2 separate regions of the Homo sapiens genome follow, and region 1 is linked to region 2. The links are contacts of gene promoters, found by promoter capture Hi-C in human tissues and cell types (Jung and others, 2019). All regions are on one chromosome and are shown on one strand. Each heading gives the region's core, a stretch centred on a gene start or on the middle of the fragment in contact. The rest is flanking DNA. Distances are from core to core; before and after follow the strand shown.

What was found. The method cuts DNA at HindIII sites, captures the fragments that hold promoters and counts their contacts. A contact is called where the count stands out against the background at its distance.
Region 1: a contact is called between a fragment that was not itself captured here and the fragment with the promoter of PGPEP1L in region 2, in 4 of the 25 tissues and cell types used here (dorsolateral prefrontal cortex, hippocampus, mesenchymal stem cells and 1 more).

The regions. Positions count from the first base shown.
Region 1 is chr15:98,454,343-98,460,144 of GRCh38, forward strand. It overlaps the pseudogene FAM169BP. Among named protein-coding and RNA genes, the nearest start is that of LINC02351, 36 kb to the left of the region's middle. The HindIII fragment of the contact is 3,340 bases long and covers 182-3,521 here.
Region 2 is chr15:99,004,068-99,010,161 of GRCh38, forward strand. PGPEP1L (pyroglutamyl-peptidase I like) reads right to left here and starts at 3,725. Exons shown (of 5, transcript NM_001167902.2): 1 at 3,292-3,725; 2 at 1,362-1,589. The HindIII fragment of the contact is 12,693 bases long and covers 1-6,094 here.

The sequences.
Region 1 (5,802 bases), core at 602-3,101, 550 kb before region 2:
AAGGCATTTTGGCAGTTTCTTACAGAACTAAACATACTCTTACCTTGTGATTCAGCAGTCACACTCCTTGATATTTACTCAACGGAGTTGAAAACGATGTTCACACAAAAATCTGCACACAAATATTTATTCATAATTACTAGAACTTAGAAGCAATCAGGATGTACTTCGGACGGTGAGTGGATAAACTGTGGCTTATCCAGTCAATGTAACATTATTCTGCACTAAAAAGAAATGAGTTATTACTATAAAAAGATATAGAAAAACCATAAGGGCATATTACTAAGTGAAAGAAGCTAACTGAACAATGACATTCCATTGGATTCCAACTACAGTAATGTGCTTCATAAAGACGTTTCAGTCAACAATGGACCACATGTGCAATGGAGATCCCATAAGATTAAAATACAGCTGAAAAATTCCTGTCGCCTAGTGATAGTCATAGGCATCATAAAGTCGTAATGCAACACGCTATTCATGTGTTTGTGGTGATGCTGGGGTAAACACACCTACCACACTGCCAGTCATATAAAAGTCTAGCACATACAGGCGGGCATGGTGGCTCATGCCTGTAATCCCAGCACTTTGGGAAGCCGAGGTGGGAGGATCACTTGAGGTCAGGAGTTTGAGACCAGCCTGGCTAACATAGTGAAACCCCATCTCTACCAAAAATATAAAAAAAATTAGCCAGGTGTGGTGGCATGCACCTGTAATCCCAGCTACTCAGGAGGCTGAGGCAGGAGAATTGCTTGAACCCAGGGGGCAGAGATTGCAGTGAGCCGAGATTGCACCACTGCACTCCAGCCTGGGCAAGAGAACAAGCCTCTGCCAAAAAAAAAAAAAAAGTCTAGCACATACAATTATGCACAGTACCTAATACCCAATAATGATAATAAATGACTGATACTGGTTTATGTATTTACTATACTATATTTGTATTGTCATTTTAGAGCGTACACCTTCTACTCATTATAAAAACAAAATTAACTGTAAAGCAGCCTCAGGCAGGTCCTCTAGGAGGTATTCCAGAAGAAGGCAGTTATCCTAGGAAATGATAGCTCCACGCATGTTACTGCCCCTGGAGACCTTCCAGTGGGACAAGATGTGGAAGTGGAAGACAGTGATATTGACAATCCTCACCCTGAGTAGGCCTAGGCTAAGGAGTGTGTTTGTCTCTTTGCTTTCAGCAAGAAATATTTTTAAACTTAAAAAAAAATTTTTTTTAATTAAAGCTTATAGAATAAGAAAATATTTATGTGCAGCTGCATAATGTATTTATGTTTTAGCCAAGTGTTATTACAAAAGAGTCAAAAAGTTAAAAAAATCAAAAAGTTTTTGTAAAGTAAAAAGGTTACAGTAAGCTACAGTTCATTTATTATTGAAGGAAAAAGTAGACATTTAGTGTAACCTACGTGTACAGTGTTTCTAAAGTGCACAGTAGTGCACAGTACTGTCCTAGGCCTTCACATTCACTCACCACTCACTCACTCCCTGAATCACCCAGAGAAACTTCCAGTCCTGCAGCTCCACTCACGGTAAGTACTCTACACGAGCATACTGTTTTTAAATCTCTTTACTGTACCTTTTCTATATTTACATATGTTTAGATACAGAAATACCATTATGTTACAATTGCCTCCAGTAATGAGTACAGTAACGAGCTATACAGGTTTGTAGCCTAGAGATGACAGGCCATACTCCACAGCCTAGGAGTGCAGCAGGCTCTGCCATCAAGTCTTATGTGAATACATTCTATCATGTTCACACAATGATGCAATTGCCTAACAATGCATTCCTCAAAACATATCCCTGTGGCTAAGTGACAAATGACTGTATATTACATTCTGGAAAAGGCAAAACTAGGGAGGCATGGTGACCGGGCGCGGTGGCTCACACCTGTAATTCGAGCACTTTGGAAGGCCAAGGTGGGTGGATCACCTGAGGTCAGGAGTTCAAGACCAGCCTGGTCAACATGGCGAAACCCCATCTCTACTAAAAATACAAAAACTGAGCCAGGCATGGTGGCTCATGCCTGTAATCCCAGCTACTTGGGAGGCTGAGACACGAGAACTGCTTGAATTGGGGAGGTGGAGGTTGCAGTGAGCCAACATCACACCACTGCATTCCAGCCTGTGTGACAAGAGTGAGACCCCGTCTCAAAAAAAAAGATCTGTGGTTACCAGGGCCAGGAGTAAGAAGGATGAGTAGACAGAGTACAGAGGAATTTTAGGCAGTGAAACTACCCTGTGTGATATTACAACAGTGGACACATGCCATTAAACATTTGTCACAACCCATAGAAGTTACAACATGGAGTAAGCTCTCATGTAAACTATGAACTTCAGTTAATGATAATCTATTCTTATAGGCTGAACCTTGTGTCTCCCACATTCGCAAACCCACAGTACCTCAGAAGATACTTTCTTTGCAGCTGGTTGGAGATAAGGCCTTTAAAAGAGGTCATGAAGCTAAAAAGGAGGCATTAGGATATGCACCACTCCAACCTTCTTACAGGGACTAGTGTCCCTATAAGAAGAAATCTGGACACACAGAAAGATACCAGCAATACTCAAGTAGAGAAAAGACCAAGTATGGACATAGTGAGAAGGCAGCCATCTGCAAGCCAAGAAGAAGCCTCTAAAGAAAACAAGCTTTCTGACACCTTGACCTTGAACTTCTGGCCTCCATAACTGTGAGAAAATTAATTTCTGTTGTTTAAGTCAGTAGTCTCCAACATTTTTGGCACCAGGAACCAGTTTCATGGAAGACAATTTTCCCATGGACCAGGAAACGGAGGGGATGGTTTCAGGATGATTCAAGTGCATTACATTTATTGTGCACTTTATTTATATTATTATGGTGTAATATATAATGAAATAATTATTATACAACTCACTATAATGTAGAATCAGTGGGAGCCCTGAGCTTGTTTTCTTGCAACTAGATGGTCCCATCTGGGGGTGATGGGAGACAGTGACAGATCATCAGGCATTAGATTCTCATAAGGAGCACGCAACCTAGACCCCTCGCATGTGAAGTTCACAGTAGGGTCCGCACTCTTACGAGAATCTGATGCTGCCACTGATCTGACAGGAGGCAAAGGTCAGGTGGTAACATGAGCAATGGGAGTGACCGTAAATACAGATGAAACTTTGCTCACTCGCCCACCCCTCACCTCCTGCTGTGCAGCCCAGCTCCTAACAGGCCACAGACTGGTACCAGTCCATGGCCCGGGGACTGGGGACCCCTAGTTTAAGCCACCCAGTCTGTGGTATTTTGTTATGGAAGCCCTAGAAAACTAGTGTATATGTCAATATTGGTTCATCAATTGTAACAAACGTACCTCACTAGCGCAATATGTTAACAATAGGGGAAATGATTGGGGGAGAGGATACATTGGAACTCTGTACTTGCCCCTCAATTTTTCTATAAAACTAAAAACTATTCTAAAAATAAAGCTTATTCATATTTTTTAATGTATCAGGTATTTTATAAAGTGAGGTTGGACCTTTACTTTACATCATACATAAAAAAATAATTCAAAATGGATCATAGACATGAATGTAAGAGCTAAAACTATAAAGCTTTTAGAAAAAGTAAAAATCTCCCCAACCTTGGGTTAGGCAAAGAGTTCTTAGATTCAACACCCAGAACACAATCAATTGACAAACCTAACTTCATCAATGTTTTAAATGTTTTGTTTCAAAAGGCACGACTGGGGAACATGGCGGACGGGAGGCAGGACTAGATTGCAGCTCTGACTGGGACAGACAGAGCAGTGTGTGGAGGCTCGCATTGTAAATTTTTGCTCCAGAACAACTGCAGGAATAAATCAGGAAACCTGAGAGGACCCACAGACTCCCTGAAGGAAGCAGATTGCTCCTGCAGGACCCAGGAGACACCCCAAATACTGTGCTGGTATCCATGACTGAGAGTCCCACAGACGGTTCACATCACAGGACTCTGTGCAGACAACCCCCAGTACCAGCTGGAGCCTGGTAGACTTGCTGGCTGGCTAGACCCAGAAGAGAAATAACAATCACTACAGCTTGGCTCTCAGGAAGCCACATCCACAGGAATAGGGGGAAAGCACTACATCAAGGGAACACCCCATGGGACAAAAGAAGCCTTCAGCCCTAGCCCTTCCCTCTGACAGAGCCTACTCAAATGAGAAGGAACCAGAAAACCAACTCTGGTAATATGACAAAACAAGGTTCTTTAACATCTCCAAAAAATCACAGTAGCTCACCAGCAACGGACCCAAACAAAGAAGAAATACCTGATTTACCTGAAAAAGAATTTAGGAGATTAGTTATTAAGCTAATCAGGGAGGCACCAGAGAAAGGCGAAGCCCATTGTAAGGAAATCCAAAAAAATGATACAAGAAGTGAAGGCAGGAAATAGATATTCAAGGAAATAGCATTAAAAAGAAATCAAAACTCCGGGAAACAACAGACACACTTATAGAAATGCAAAATGCTCTGGAAAGTCTCAGCAATAGAATTGAACAAAGAGAATAAAGAAATTCAGAGCTCAAAGACAAGGTCTTCAAATTAACCCAATCCAACAAGACAAAGAAAAAATAATAAGAAAATATGAACAAAGCCTCCAAGAAGTCTGGGATTATGCCAAATGTAAGAATAATCAGTGCTCCCGAGGAAGAAGAGAAATCTAAAAGTTTGGAAAACATATTTGGGGAAATAATCGAGGAAAACTTCCCCAGCCTTGCTAGAGCCCTAGACACCCAAATACAAGAACCACAAAGAACACCTGAGAAATTCATCGCAAAAAGATTATCACCTAGGCACATTGTCATCAGGTTATCTAAAGTTAAGACAAAGGAAAGAATCTTTAAAGCTGTCAGATAAAAGCACCAGGTAACCTATAAAAGAAAACCTATCAGATTAACAGCAGATTTCTCTGCAGAAACCCTACAAGCTAGAAGAGGTTGGTGCCCTATCTTCAGCTTCCTCAAACAAAACAATTAGCCAAGAAATTTGTAGCCGGTGAAACTAACCTTCATATATGAAGGAACGATGTAGTCTTTTTCAGACAATCAAATGCTGAGAGAATTCGCCACTACCAAGCCAAGCCACCACCACAAGAACCGCTAAAAGGAGCTCTAAATCTTGAAACAAATCCTGGAAACACATCAGAACAGAACCTCTTTAAAGCATAAATCTCACAGGACCTATAAAACAAAAATATAATTTAAAAAACAGAAACAAAAAACCAAGGTATACAGACAACAAACAGCATGATGAATGGAGTGGTATCTCACATCTCAATACTAACACTGAATGTAAATGGCCTAAATGGTCCACTTAAAAGATACAGAATTGCAGAATGGATAAGGATTCATCAGCCAACTACCTGCTGTCTTCAAGAGACTCACCTAACACATAAGGACTCACATAAACTTAAGATAAAGGGGTGGAAAAAGACATTTCAGGCAAAAGCAAGCAAGAGTAACTATTCTTATATCAGACAAAACAAACTAAACCAGCAGCAGTTAAAAAAGGAAAAGGGGGCATTATAATAATGATAAAAGGTCTTGTCCAACAGGAAAATATCACAATCCTAAACATATATGCACCTAACACTAGAGCTCCCAAATTTATAAAACAATTACTACTAAACCTAAGAAATGAGATAAACAGCAACACAATAATAGTGGGGGACTTCAATACTCCACTGACAGCACTAGACAGGCCATCAAGACAGAAAGTCAACAAAGAAACAATGGATTTAAACTATACCCTGGAACAAATGGACTTAACATATATATACAGAATATCCCAT
Region 2 (6,094 bases), core at 2,475-4,974:
CAACACAATTCAGAAAACTTAAAACCGGCCAAATGTGTCTAACTAAAAATGAAGGCTGGACATGATGGCTCATGCCTGTAATCCCTGCATTTTGGGAGGCCAAGGCGGGAGGATCACTTCAGCCCGGGAGTTAGAGACCAGTCTGGGGAATACAGGAAAACCCTGTTTCTACTAAAAACTAAAATAAAATAAATTGGGGGGTGTGGTGGTGAGTGCCTGTTGTCCCAGCTACTCCAGAGGCTGAGGTGGGAGGATTACTTGAGCCCAGGAGTTTGAGGCTGCAGTGAGTTATGACTGAGCCACTGCACTCCAGTCTGGACAACAGAGGGAGACTGTCTCAGAAAAATTAAAAATATAAAAATAAAAATAGGGCCAGGCGCAGTGGCTCATGCCTGTAGTCCCAGCACTTTGGGAGGCCTAGGCGGGCAGATCACAAGGTCAAGAGATCGAAACCATCCTGGCCAACATGGTGAAACCCCATCTCTACTAAAAATACAAAAATTAGCTGGGCGTGGTGGTGCGTACCTGTAGTCCCAGCTACTCGGGAGGCTGAGGCAGGAGAATCGCTTGAACCCAGGAGGCGGAGGCTGCAGTGAGCTGAGCTTACGCCACTGCACTCTAGCCTAGCGACAGAACAAGACTCTGTCTCAAAAAAAAATTAATAAAAATAAAGACCTTTGTGAAGATCAGGCCCCCAGGGACCAGCTGGGATGCTGACTTGGTGAGGCAAGTGTGGGTGGGGGTGACTCTGGATGTGCTGGTGTTTGCAGGAGTGAGCAGCCACCATTCCTTCCAAGTTGACCTTCTGGGGCTCAGGGTCTCCAGCTAGTGGCTCTCGGGGGGTGCTTCACAGCTCCCTGAAAAATGGAAGTTCTTACTCTGGAAGTGGGGACTGTGTGTTCCTTTGCGGGTGGCTGTTGTAGATGGGTTTGCAAGCCTTGTGAGGGCCCTGTGGTTTCTGGGCGTATAGATCCCTCTTCCTTGCTATGAGCCTGCACCCCCAAGGGATACCTCACGTGCCTCGGGCCCCACTCAGGGAAAACAGGTACCAGCCTCAGCTTCCTCCCTGCTGGGTTGAAAGGCAAGGTCTGAGCCTAAGCCACCAGTGGCACCTTCGTGCCCGCCACTCGAGAGTTACTTGAAGCGAATGAGCCACAGAAGCAGAAATGCCTGTGATCCTGATTGTTTATTAATAGGGCACAGCAGCAAGTTCGTTTCCATCTGGAATTATTAGCACCACCAGTTGCCATTCTTTTTTTCCCTCAGGGAACTATTTAAGACCCAGGATCAGGCCAGTGCGCATTCCAGGGGCAGGCTAAAAGCAGCAACAAATAGGAGAGAAAAAAATTATGTAGTCTTACCAGTCACCACCACGCAGCTGGGCTGGGAATCCATGAAGACGAAGTGGGAGCTCGCGCTGCGCCTCCCTGGCTCAGGCAGCGGCCCAGCGGCCGGGCTCTGCGCGCTCTGAGCTCCGGGCACCTTCTCTGCCTGGCCGCGTGCTCGCCGGGGACCGGGGTGGAGCGGGAGCCCAACCCCTCCTGGCCGCCCGGCGTCCGTAGCGTTCTGGGCCCCGAAAGGCCAAGGATCTAGGGGAGGGTGATAAAGCAATGCCCCTTGAAAGCAGAACGATCCAGCTCAGGACAGCGGGTTGGAGCGCCAGCAGGGACTTTCTGGACATTTGAGTCTGGGTCACTTTGTTGTTCAGGATGGTTCAAAGGTGAGCTAAGGGTTTGGCTACCAGCTGTCCCGGTTTGCCTGGGACAGAAGGATGTCTGGGACGGAACACCACATGGTGCTCAAAGAGGTACTGTCCTAGGAACTGTGGGCTACCCTACAAGTCGTTTACTTAGATCTTATTTTTTCCTCTTTAGTAATCCCTGCCAGAGCCCCTCATTGTGTTTGGCCATTATGATTTGGTAAAATTTGATTGCTCTGAAAACTAATTCCACAAAATATGTGAGATGTGAGCAGAAAAAAAAGAGAGAAAACCATAGATGAATCTTATGGCGCCTGCCTTTAAAATATTGATTGCAAGCACCGCTGCCTAGGAGCTGTGGGTCCTCAGGGAAGTTAACCTCTGTGCTCAGGTTTCCTGTTTTGAGAAACGAGGATCGCAGCACCGGATCCTGTATGGATTCTTTCTGTGCCCCAGGCACTGTCCCCAGCTTCATCAGCCCTGAGGAACAGAGGCTTGCCACCTAGCTAGCGTCTGTGCAAGCTTGCTAGCTCTGTGCTCACCACCCTGCGTTCTACCTGCGAAAAGTGCTTTCTTGACACTGTGCTGGACTCCTTAAACATGCCACTGACAGTGAGCCACAGCCGTGGCATGCCACCTGGCTCTGCAGACAGTCCTCTTTTTAATGTGTCAGAATAACTGAAAAAGGCTAACATTTGAGGCTATTTCCTCTATCGAAAAAGCTGTTTTCCAATATCTTGATCTTTCGGAGAATTCTATTTAAAAACAAAACAAACTTTTGGCCAGGTGCACTGGCTCACGCCTTTAATTTCAGCATTTTGAGAGGCCAAGGTAGGAGGATAGCCTGAGGCCAGGAGTTCAAGATCAACCTGGGCAACGTGGCAAGACTGCATCAATTATTTTTTTCAAAACGTGGTATATGCCCATAGTCCTGGCTTCTCAGGGAGGCTGAAGCGGGAGGATCACTTGAGCCGTCAGTCGTAACTGCACCTCTGCACTCCACCCTGGGTGACAGAGTGAGACCCTGTCTCTAAAAATATTCTTAAACTTTTTTTTAAACTGAAAATACTTTTTTCCTGAAGCTGTATATTAAGAGGAAGAAGACCCATGATTCTCTGTCCCCATCTAGGTCTGGGGAGGAGAAGCTCCCTTCAGGGAAGCAGGCAGAGCCTCTCAAGCACCCTGCGGCCTCTAGAGAGCTCAGTGTGACAGCAGGACCACGTGGCTCCATCTGCTGAATTGTCCTCCTGATATAAAGCGCTCCCTTTTAATTGGGATCACCCCCGCGGATTAGACCCCCCTTGGTGGCTTTCTGGGATTCTGAACCAGGAACAATTCCCTTTAATTAGCTCCTGGTGTGGGCTGCAGGCCTCTTCACTGCCAACAGGTGGGAAGCGCCATTTGCTCCCACTAGTCTCCCACTCCCTGTCCTGAGAAGCTGGGCCCACCTTGCCATGAGTGGGATGCAGAGGATTTTTGTACTTTGCCTCATTTCACAGAAGTTACCCGGTTTCTCAATATACCCCGGATGCACTTGTAGACTTGGTCTCTACCTCCTCTGGTGAGCAGCTCTCCTAGCTCCTATCACTTACCTAGTTCCGTCATGGTGTGTCCAGAATCGGCGGATTCTTGGTCTCACTGACTTCAAGAACGAAGCCGCGGACCCTGGCGGTGAGTGTTACAGTTTTTAAAGGCAGCGTGTCCCAAGTTTGTTTCTTCTGATGCTCGCATGTGTTCGGAGTTTCTTCCTTCTGGCAGATTCGTGATCTCGCTGACTTCAGGAGTGAAGCTACGGACCTTCATCATGAGTGCTACGGCTCTTAAGGTGGCGTGTTTGGAGTTATTCGTTTCTCCCGGTGGGTCCGTGATGTGGCTGGCTTTAAGAACGAAGCTGCAGACCTTCACGGTGAGCGTTACAGCTCATAAAGGCAGTGCGGACCCAAACAGTAAGCAGCAGCAACGGTTATTGCAAACAAGCAAAACAACAAAACTTCCACAGCACAGAAGGCGACTCCAGCAAGTTGCTACTGCTACCTGGGGCAGCCTGCTTTTATTCTCTTATCTGGCCCCACCCACATCCTGCTGATTGGTCCATTTTACAGAGAGCCGATTGGTCTGTTTTACAGAGAGCTGATTGGTCCGTTTTGACAGGGTGCTGATGGGTGCGTTTACAATCCTGGAGCTGGACACAAAAGTTCTCCACGTCCCCACTAGATTAGCTAGATACAGAGTGTGGACACAAAGGTTCTCCAAGTCCCCACCAGAGTAGCTAGATACAGAGCGTCGATTGGTGCATTCACAAACCCTGAGCTAGACACAGGGTGCTGATTGGTGTGTTTACAAACCTTGAGCTAGATACAGAGTGCCCATTGGTGTATTTACAATCCCTTAGTTAAACATAAAGGTTCTCCAAGTCCCTTCCAGACTCAGAAGCCCAGCTGGCTTCACCCAGTGGATCCCGCACCAGGGCCGCAGGTGGAGCTGCCTGCCAGTCCTGTGCAGTGCGCCTGCACTCCTCAGCCGTTGGGTGGTCGATGGGACTGGGTCCTGTGGAGCAGGGGGCGGCACTCGTGGGGGAGGCTCAGGCCGCGCAGGAGCCCATGACGCGGGGGAGGAGGCTCAGGTATGGCGGGCTGCAGGTCCCGAGCCATGCCCCGCACGGAGGCAGCTAAGGCCCCGCGAGAAGTCGAGCACTAACAGCTGCTGGCCCAGGTGCTAAGCCCCTCACTGCCCGTGGCCGGCGGGGCGGGCTGGCTGCTTGGAGTGCGGGGCCCGCCGAGCCCACGCCCACCCGGAACTCGCACTGGCGCGCAAGCGCGGCGTGCAGCCCCGGTTCCCGCCCGCGTCTCTCCCTCCACACCTCCCCGCAAGCTGAGGGAGCCGGCTCTGGCTTTGGCCAGCCCAGGAAGGGGCTCCCACAGTGCAGCGGCGGGCTGAAGGGCTCCTCAAGTGCCGTTAAAGTGGGAGCCCAGGCAGAGGAGCCGAGAGTGAGTGACGGCTGCGAGGCCTACCAGCATGTTGTCACCTCTCAGTGGGGGCTTGGCTTCCTCTGCACAGTTAAAGGAAGAGATTGGACCATTAAGAAATGCCCACTTCTTCTTTTTTTTTTTTTTTCAGATGTAGTCTCGCTCTGTTGCCCAGGCTGGAGTGCAGTGGCGCGATCTCGGCTCACTGCAGCCTCCGCCTCCCAGGTTCAAGCAGTTCTCTCCCTCAGCCTCCGGAGTAGCTGGGATTACAGGCACCTGCCACCAGCCCTGGCTATTTTTTGTATTTTTAGTAGAGACAGAGTTTGACCATCTTGGCCAGGCTGGTCTTGAACTCCTGACCTCGTGATCCACCTGCCTCGGCCTCCCAAAGTGCTGTGATTACAGGCGTGAGCCACCGCGCCCGTCCAGAAATGCCCACATTTGTAAAGTTGGTTGCTGCTAGGGTCCAACTCTGCTATCAACATTCACCTATGAGGTCTGGGAATGGGAACTTGTGTTTAAGGAGACTCCTTAAGTGCAAAGACTGCCCATCTTTAACCATACTACTTTTCTGATAACAAAGCTGAAATTTTCATCATTTTTTTTTTGATTTGACAGGAGCTATTATTTTAACTAAACTGGAATGTGTCCTGCAGTTTTCACTTTCCCATAATTCACTTATTTTTTTCTGTTCTAAAGTTTTCTCTAATTTTGAAATTAATAGAAAAAACAACACAAAATATTTTACTTAGTCACAGTGATATGTCTATTTTTGTATTCATTCACCTCCCCTCTCCCCACACAAGAACCCCCCAGCACATTCCTACTTTCTGGAATGAAAATAGCTCTGAGAAGTATGGATTTTGAGGTTCAACATCTGCACTTTTATTTCTTTTTCCATTGTAAAAACAAATGGTCTCTAATAATTGATGTCAAACACAGTCTTTAGGCTGATGAAATACAGTAAGCCTGAGAACGAATAAGGCAACTAAATGGAGCTGTTTTATTTAACAGAGAGCACAGTGATCTTCCTTACAAGCGGGATTCCCGAGAGGAAAATGTTTGTAATCAGATTTGACTCTAGGATTAAGAGGGCAAGGTGCGACCCTCTTAGTGAACCGGAAAGTAAGCAACGGTACACAAGTGTTCTCACCAGGGACAGCAAATGGGAGTTGCCAAGATTACAAGATCCCAAGACCTCAACTATTTCACGTGCTGAACTAAACTCAAAACTTTGTGGGATTTGTTTTAAATTTCTCATTGGCAAGTGGTGACTTCCTGCTCTCGCAAGAAAAAAGATTAAAGGGGTTTGTTTACTGTCTCTGACACAAACAGCTCTTACAACACATTTTGTACACTTGACATAAATGAAATTTAATCAAACTGGTCAAATTCCTTTGGGAGGTGGGGAGAAAATAAATCAATCAGC